3 separate regions of the Homo sapiens genome follow, and regions 2 and 3 are each linked to region 1. The links are contacts of gene promoters, found by promoter capture Hi-C in blood cells and fetal thymus (Javierre and others, 2016). All regions are on one chromosome and are shown on one strand. Each heading gives the region's core, a stretch centred on a gene start or on the middle of the fragment in contact. The rest is flanking DNA. Distances are from core to core; before and after follow the strand shown. Region 1 holds the start of INTS6L (integrator complex subunit 6 like). Region 2 has its middle 4.1 kb from the start of PABIR3. Region 3 holds the start of SMIM10 (small integral membrane protein 10).

What was found. Contacts are between HindIII fragments. The CHiCAGO score rates a contact against its expected background, and 5 or more counts as called.
Region 2: a contact is called between a fragment that was not itself captured here and the fragment with the promoter of INTS6L in region 1, in 6 of 17 cell types (neutrophils, naive CD8 T cells, total B cells and 3 more). The highest score is 8.9, in neutrophils.
Region 3: the fragment with the promoter of SMIM10 here is called in contact with the fragment with the promoter of INTS6L in region 1 in 2 of 17 cell types (naive CD8 T cells and naive CD4 T cells); the score reaches 6.3 in naive CD8 T cells.

What each region holds. Positions count from the first base shown.
Region 1 is chrX:135,519,212-135,522,077 of GRCh38, forward strand. INTS6L (integrator complex subunit 6 like) reads left to right here and starts at 1,449. Exons shown (of 18, transcript NM_001351601.3): 1 at 1,449-1,892; 2 at 2,030-2,107. The coding sequence starts at 1,782. INTS6L-AS1 (INTS6L antisense RNA 1) reads right to left here and starts at 1,463. Exons shown (of 2, transcript NR_046740.1): 1 at 1,356-1,463; 2 at 872-1,161. RefSeq lists enhancers at 1,603-1,682, 1,713-1,772 and silencers at 2,023-2,292, 2,353-2,552. The HindIII fragment of the contact is 2,771 bases long and covers 889-2,866 here.
Region 2 is chrX:134,801,737-134,804,602 of GRCh38, forward strand. It overlaps a transcript of PABIR3 not described here. Among named protein-coding and RNA genes, the nearest start is that of PABIR3, 4.1 kb to the right of the region's middle. The HindIII fragment of the contact is 7,504 bases long and covers 1-2,866 here.
Region 3 is chrX:134,989,608-134,992,473 of GRCh38, forward strand. SMIM10 (small integral membrane protein 10) reads left to right here and starts at 1,384. Exons shown (of 1, transcript NM_001163438.2): 1 at 1,384-2,866. The coding sequence starts at 1,489. The coding sequence ends at 1,740. The HindIII fragment of the contact is 12,586 bases long and covers 1-2,866 here.

The DNA of each region.
Region 1 (2,866 bases), core at 199-2,698:
TGAAGTGATTCTCCTGCCTCAGCCTCCCAAGTAGCTGGGACTACAGGCGCCTGCTCCCATGCCCGGCTAATTTTTGTATTTTTAGTAGAGACGGGGGTTTCACCATGTTGGCCAGGCTGGTCTCAAACTCCTGCCCTCAAATGATCCACCCACCTCGGCCTCCCAAAGTGCTGGAATTACAGGCATGAGCCACTGCGCCTGGCCAAAATATATAAAATATTATGTATGTATATGTCATCATCTCTCCTCAATGAAACTGCAAACTCATTGAAGTCCTGGATTCCACATTGTCAATAGTAATTGCCAGGAATACACAAGTCCAATTTTTAAAATTGTGTCATATGAAGTAGTCAATCAAGTGTGGTTGGCCACTTACTGAGTCTCTTCACAGAGCCAGACCTGAGAGTATCCGTAATTGTTACCCTAACCTCAGGGAGCTGCATTTTCCTCTACTGAAAATTGAATACAATGCCATCTGCCATAATTAATTCAAAGATTAAACAAGGCTACCGTGGGTGCCTGGCTCTTCATAGGCACTCAATAAATGTGAGTTGAGAGCCTGCCCCTGTGGTCCCAGCTACTTGAGAGGCTGAGATGGGAGGATCGCTTAAGCCCAGGAGCTGGACGCTGCAGGCAGCTATGATGGGGCCACTGCACTCCAGCCTGGGCGATCAAGCGAGATCCTCTTTATTTATTTATAAAAATAAATAAATAAATAAATATGTGAGTTGAATCACAATCTAGGTTTGCAAACCTCCATGTGTAAAGGCTGCGCAGAGGGAACAGTGGTGGAATTATCACAGGCAGGCCAATGTTTCAAAGAGCTTAGTGAAACTGAAGAAGCTTGTGCATACAAAAGGCCAGTTTAGGTAACTGTAACTGTGTTTAAGCTTTAGTTTCCTTTCTAAGTAGATATATGTGGAATGCAAGGCCAGCAACCAACTCACAAATACTGATCAAGACGGGGGAGGGATCTAAAGGAATGTGAGTACGTCCTGCCAGGAAAGAAGTTTGCTGCTTCTGAAATATTTTCGTCTTCGCCACTGGCAGGATTGATCGATTGCAGTTAGCGAAGAATTTTCTGTGCAAACTGTCCAAGCATCTGCTTCTGTACTTCTGTACAACTGTTGCTCAAATTCACTCTTCTTTTCGAATCACCATCTTTGAAGAGAGACAGAAAAATCCATTTAAACCACCCGAACTAATCATTCGAACTGCTTCCAAGTCCTTTAAAGGAGAATCCTAGCGAGGGTCCGTAACACTTCCCCTTACCCTCTGCCTGGGTTCAAACTTCAACTCCCAGGGTTCGCCCAAGTCCCTCCCCTAGTCCTGTCATCTAATGAATATGCAAATACCACATAATTGGCAGCCAATGGCATGGGTTCTGGTCACATGGTGCCGATGGTAGGTGAGCAGACAGAAGTTGTCAGTGAACAGAGACGGCGCTCAGTCTGGGGCGAGCGCTCTAGTGAGCGCGGACGGATGCTTAGGCAGTAGTCCTGGCAGCGGCAGTAGTGGTGGCAGCAGAAGAGAGGAAGGGGGAGGGCCCCGAGGGCTACACACGCTCACACTTTCAAGTTCCCTTGGAGGGAGAGGAGGTGGGGCTGCAGAAAGAGGAGGCCAGGAGCGGTCCCATCCGTCCCGTCCCGTCCCGTCTCCCCCTCTTCCTCTTGCTCCTTGCTCCCCGGCTCTGCGAGAGTTGAGGGTTCAGGTGGCCGTACGCGGCAGTGAGGGCAAGAGGGCCGGGAGAGTGGGGAGCGGAGGCAGGAGTGCGGGGGAAGATGCCCATCCTGCTGTTCCTCATAGACACGTCCGCCTCTATGAACCAGCGCACTGACCTGGGCACCTCTTATTTGGACATTGCCAAAGGCGCTGTGGAGTTATTCTTGAAGGTAAAGGGAGGGGAGGGGAGAGATGGGGAGAGCTCCCGAGGGATTTCAGGGTGTGGATTGAGGTGCTTCTGTAACGTTTGTATCGCCCTCCCCCCTCCTTTCCTACGCGACCCCCTCCGTCATCCCTTGCCCCGCAGCTGCGCGCCCGGGACCCGGCCAGCCGTGGAGACAGGTACATGCTGGTCACCTACGACGAACCCCCGTACTGCATCAAGGTAAAGGGGCTACGGGTGGGGGGACAGGCGGGAAGCGGGAGCAAGTCGGCGGGGGCTGCTTACCCCCCTGCCCCCGCCTAAGGCGGTCCTGCGTCGCCCGGCGGGGCGGGCGGCGAGGGGGTGCGCAGAGGGCGGGCGGAGTGGTGCCGTCGGCGGCTTCGGAGTAGCTGTCGCGCCTGGGGTCGGGGAGAGGGGACCGGGGAGGAGCAGCCCCGGGGAGAAACCGCAGGAGGGCCGAGCTCGTGGCGCGACAACCGCAGCCGCCTCGGAACATGGCGGACATTTTGCTTTTGTATGAGCCTGCGAGAGGGAGACTGAGGGCGCTGCTGAGATGGAAAGGAGGGAGGGGAGGGAGGAGCGGGGAAGGAGGGCCCGAAACCCGGAGGGAGGCTGCGAGGCGGGCCCGCCCCTTCGAGGCGCACCGCGCGAGGGTCGCCGCGCGGGGGGCCGGACGGAGCCTGCGACTCCGCCCCGAGGTCCTGCCGGCCGGGCGCGCGGGCTTTCCCGGAGCCTGGGCTCCTCCTCTGGCCCCTCCTTCCTCCCCCGGTCTTCCTCCCCCTCCTTGGGCTCTTCGCTGCATCTCCTCCTTCTCCCCCTCTTCCTCCTGGTCCCCTCCCCTTCCTGCTGAGAGCGTGGCAGAGCCAGCCGCCGGCCTTCAAAGACTAGACAACCGCCTTTGCACTCGTTGGCCTCTCACCACCCCCGCGCAATCGGAAATCTGTCCGCGACGCCAGTCTCCCCACCCCCAGACCCGGAGAA
Region 2 (2,866 bases), core at 141-2,640, 720 kb before region 1:
ATTTTTCTTTCTCCTTAGCCCTGTCCTTATCCTGCTCTTGGTTATAAAAGACTGAGGAGACTGATTTGAGGTTTTCTGCATAGGGGCCATGCTGTATTACAAAAGAAAATTCGACTTTTTTTTTTTTTTTAATCTGAGGGTTACATTTGTCTCAGCGTTTTGGGATGCAACTCATAGGTGAGTCTGACGGAATAGAGGAGGTTTGTCCCATGGTGGGACTGGAAAACGATGAGCTGCCGGGGACTAACGTCTGCTGCAGACACGAACCACACTCTCTCGCCGCCCCCACCCCCCTGCCCCACCAGGAAGAGGGCTCAACTCACATCTGCTGAGGGATTCCAGTGCACTTTCTTTTCTTTTCTTTTGAGATGGAATCTCGCTTTGTCGCCCAGGCTGGAGTGCAGTGGTGGGATCTCGGCTCACTGCAACCTCCGCCTCCCAGGTTCAAGCGATTCTCCTGTGTCAGCCTCCCAGGTAGCTGGGATTACAGGCATGCACCACTACGTCCAGCTAATTTTTTGTATTTTTAGTAGAGATGGGGTTTCGCCATGTTGGCCAGGCTGGTCTTGAACTCCTGACCTCAGGTGATCCACCCACCTCGGCCTCCCAAAGTGCTGGGATTACAGGCATGAGCCACCGTGCCCGGCCTCAAGTGCACTCTCTAAAGGGGCATCCCACCTATTAGAAAGGACATCTCAGCGCTGGGGCCTTACGCTGGATGGTTAGCCCCGGTACAAGGAAAAAGGGTAAAGGAAGAACTCAGCCTGGTCCCATCCCAGGAGAGAGGACCAGAATGGGGAGACTCACTGCTCTGAGGCTGCTTGCTATCACCTAATTTGGGAACGTCCAGAGCAGGAGGTCTGGCTGTTTTTGCAGGACTATTTAGAGTAAGAAAGAGGGGCTCTGAGCTCCCCAAAACATATGTGCCAATTGCACTACATAGGGATTGCAGACCTTTTCGCCAGAAGAGATAGGAGAGGGCCTTCTTCCCTTCTAGGCAAGGCAGCCAAACCTGTTCACACCCGCTGGCCTTGAGGCCACACCAGGAAATGGCCCTGACCAGTTGCCATCAATTGCCAGAGGGATACTAGAATTTGTCCTCTGGAAGACTGAAAAGTAAAGCAAATTCTGAAGTCTCACAGAATCGTGGGACAGCAGTCTGGTGTCTTTCCACCAGGACCTTCTGGTTCCCTGGGGAGCAGCCCCGGCCAGGGACTTAAAATTATCTCAGGGTTTTGACACTGTCCAACGAGAGGTTGGAATTGGAGGAAAGGGAGAAAGTAGGGGAGAGGCCCATACGAACTACCAAAATGTTGCAGGTGCAGCTGGCCAGTGGCGCAGGTGGTAAAGGAATTGACCAAGACAGTTGTAGGTAAAGAAAGGCAGATTTACTAGAGAAGGTATGGAAGTATGTTGCAAGGAGGCAAAGGGCAGCACTGCAGAGGAGGAGCTGTCTGCAAAGAGGCAGGGGCTGGAGGGAGCTGGAGGGGGCTGCATGTGGAAACAAGTCATGCTGCTGGGGCCACATGTGGAAGGAGGTCTTTGTGCCCTAGGTCTCTCAGAACAATTTTTCATTGTTCTTCCCCACCTGGGGCCCCTTTCTCATTGTTTCTTACTTATCTTATCAGGACTCCACAAACTCTTTTAATCCTCACCACTTGAATGGCCCTGGGGAAGAGAAGGCCATTGCATTGAAATGTAATAGTTCTGAAATTGCTTTCAAAATTCAGCCAGAAATAATAATTTTGCCTGCCTCTTTTCAATTATCCCATACTAAACTTGCCAAGGCCAATTATCATTTTATTCCTCACTGTTTATGCTTTCTGCCTGCAGTATGAGGGATTTGTAAGTACTTTTAGATAGTTTCCTTTAAATTGCCTGTATTTTTCTCCCAGCTAGATTAGAAACAACAACCTCTGTTTTTGAGCAACTTAGGTATCTCTTTTTATCTCAAGGTCTCAGCAACCCTTAAGGCCAGCCCCACCTCCTACTCCCTGCTCAAAAGAAATTATAATACATTCTTTTGTTCACAATAGCTACTAAACAATCATTTGTTGACCACATGCATGCACTGACCTCAGGAGCTTAACAATTTAGGAGAACGCGAGGAGAATAATGCTACTTTGGCCATCATTTCTAGGTTTTATTAACATCATTCTTGCCTGCTAGTTTTTTTTTTTTTTTTAACCTTTCATGTAAATCTTTTGGGAAGGTTTGGGGTGTTTGTGGTTTGTAGATTTGGGTTTGACTTGTATTTGACTTGCTCTTGTGGTAACTAAAGGTTACAACGTAGCTTCAAGGTTGTCATGACAACTGGTAAAATAAAGAGCTGATTATCACATGTTTGTTGGTTCCCTTTTATAGGTGAGGGCCTGGGACAGACGCAGCAGACTGGGATATGCAAAGAGAGGAGTAGCCTAATTGTCAAGTCTAGATCTAACAAAAGCAGTGTCCCAAGATCATGGCATATTTCCCTGGAACTGGAAGGACTGATCAAGAAACACAGCTAGGTTGGTATAATAATGTGTGCGTAGAAATGGGGAGAAGTAAAAACAATTTCTTTAATGTTGTGTTTGCCATTGTAGCATATAGAATTCTTGCTGTTTTTGTATTACTTGTTCCTTTTGATATTCCAATTTGTGTATGTACTATGAGTCCTATTTATATCTTTACAGGTTTGGGGTTCCTGACATGTAGCTGTTCTTTTGTAAAAGAGAGCTCCTTCTCTTTGATAATAGCTGTAAACTTATTACCATCTCATATATTTAGTTATTTCATATTACTCCTTTTCTTAGAAACATAGTCCCTTAGTCACTCTTCCCTTGTCATTTTATTATACCTATTTTCTTAGTGTTGTTGTACTTAT
Region 3 (2,866 bases), core at 134-2,633, 530 kb before region 1:
CTCAACCTCCCAAAGTGCTAGGATTACAGGCGTGAGCGCCCGGACTGCATATGTTTATCTGATTCCATTTTTGTTTTACGATTTGTAAATATATCTATGTGCGTATACATGTTTGTGCTTATAAATATACGCAAACAATTGATAAAAACATATACAAATTAGTAGTCTTTCTCTCTAGGGGGTTATGAGCCTAGGAATTTTACTTTTCTCATAATAAATATGATGTTTAATGTTTTACAAGCCATCAGAAAAACAATATTGAAAACTTCAGAAATTTAGAAAAGTTGCTCAACTGCACTGACAATTAAATGAATGCAAATTAGAAGAATAATGAAATGTACTGCCTATCATATTGGTAATAAAAAAATTAAGATTGTTAACACTCAAGGTAACATAGAGCCCTGATCTCTAAACTTTTTTGATCAATCGCATGTATTAGTAAAACGTTTTGGCTTTGAACACTAAATGTATATGTATATGTAATTGTTTTCATAAACAAAGATGGGGTCATATTATTCCTACTGTTCTGCCACTTGTAAATTCATATGTACAGTGATGTTCACTGAAACAATTTTTGACATATGAAAAACTAGAAACATTCAGAATGTCCATCAATAGGGATCTGGTTAAATAAATTATTGACCACTATTAGTCAACATGTACATAGATCACTATTCAGTCATCAAAGAGAGTGAAGTAGATGTACATTCTTGAAAAGGTAAGAGCAATATATCAATACATAAAGTCGGGAAGTAGATACAGCAAACGTAATAGTAGTTCATGGCAAGGGTAGGAGGGGAAAGTGAAGCTATGCAGGGAATTTGCTTTCTATTGTTTTACATATTTCTGCTTTGAAAATTTCTAAAAACTTGATTGAATGACTTTTCCAATCAGAAGAATACGAAAGATCTAACACAAAAACAGAAGTATTGCTTGAATTATTCAAGCAGAATGCACACATTTTAATGTCCAGAAAAGTTGCGGGTTTTGTATATTTGTACTAGCTCAAGAGTTGAGGATTGAAAAACGTTCCTAAAGGGATGAGACAACAGGAAATGGGTTTGTGCTTCTGAGTTGCTCAAGATCATGCTTATGAAGGACATTTTATATCGTTTTGAGCAAGTTTTGTGTTCCTTTTGTTAAAACTTAAAAAACTGAAAAAAACTTAAAAATTAAACATAATTTTAAAGAAAAGACAGCCCGGGTTAGGAAGCTAGGTCTCCCACGTCAGCACGTGCCCTGCCCTTCCTGGGGTTCTGGGGCCTGGGCCAGGACAGTTAGGCTAAACTGACTCTAGGCCACGCGGACCCCGTGGGGCGGGGCGGAACCTGGCAGGGCGCCAGTGACCGCTGGGGCCAGAGCCCTGCCGGGAAAGGAGGGCTTCCGCCTTGCAGCGCAGCTCGGATCAGCAGCAGCCCAGGAGGCCTCCCGCCCGTACTTTCCCGCGTCCATCCCTCTGTCCCACGGTCGGTGAGTCAGCGGAGCCTGATGGAGGCCTTGGGCTCTGGGCACTATGTGGGAGGCAGCATCAGGTCCATGGCGGCGGCGGCCCTGTCTGGCCTGGCGGTGCGGCTGTCGCGCCCGCAGGGGACCCGCGGCTCTTACGGCGCCTTCTGCAAGACGCTCACGCGCACGCTGCTCACCTTCTTCGACCTGGCCTGGCGGCTGCGCAAGAACTTCTTTTACTTCTATATTCTGGCCTCGGTGATTCTCAACGTCCACCTGCAGGTATATATTTAGAGCCACTAACTTTGTGGCATTTGGGGGCTCCTCGTCAGGATGGCTGACTTCCACCCACCTGCTCACCCACCCTAGAGCAAAGCGACCAACTCCGCTCCTGCATGCAGACTTGCCACTCATTCTTTCCATTGCCTCATCTTTTAGTATAAATGGGTGGCAAAAAAAGAAAAAAACAGCATTTGTGGAAAGCCTGAAATATAACCCAAATCGTCTAAGATAGAATGAAAAATTGACTCTCAAGGAAATATTTGAAGGAACAGAATACAGCTTAAAAATTTGAAAATCCTTAAAAATATCTGAGAAGTTTTTGCATCCGTAAAACAGAAAACAGCACGAACTTTAGGAAATGACAATGGGCACAGAATGCAATAAAAAAAAAAAACGGGGAAAGGTAACTAAAAACTTAAGGAAAGATAAACTGAACAAGAATGGCTCAGACAGCAGGCAAATCTCCCCAATTAGAAACGAAGTGAATAGACCCAATTGAATGAGATGAATTCTAAGCAATAGATGGATTGAATAATAAGCTGGAGGACATTAATAACATGTTCTGGAAGGCATACATTTCTTCAACCCAAAGGAAAAAAAATGACAGAAAGAAACTACAGGGAAGAACATTAAAAACTGTGCAAGAAACTTATGTTTCACATATGAAGCAACCTCAGATGTGGCATGGTTTTGAACAGTTGCCGAAAGTGTGAGAAAGGGAATCTGTTTGAATATTGGCACATGGATCAAGACTCTGGAGTCGGTGATGAGAAAATCCAATCAGAGCATTCCACTTTGCTATTCATTGAACCAGGTAGCCAACAGAAGAGTTAAAAATTAGTGATATGACTATATTCAGGGGGAAGGAGAGCTGAGGGGGGCGGCAGGAAGTCAGCAGAAAATGCCTCATGTCATTAAGTCAAGAAATAGTAATAAAGGCATGTTATTGAAAAAGGGGGTGTAATCTCTAAACAAGCACGTGTAGAAGTTTGTGTTTCTGATTTGGGGAAGCAAGAGTTGAGAAGGAGGGACAGTTCTATTACTTTTCATTATATGTCCTTTTTCTACTGTTTGATTTTTAAAAACTATACACATGTATTGCTTTTGCTTCGATTAAAAATCAAGACATTAAAATGAA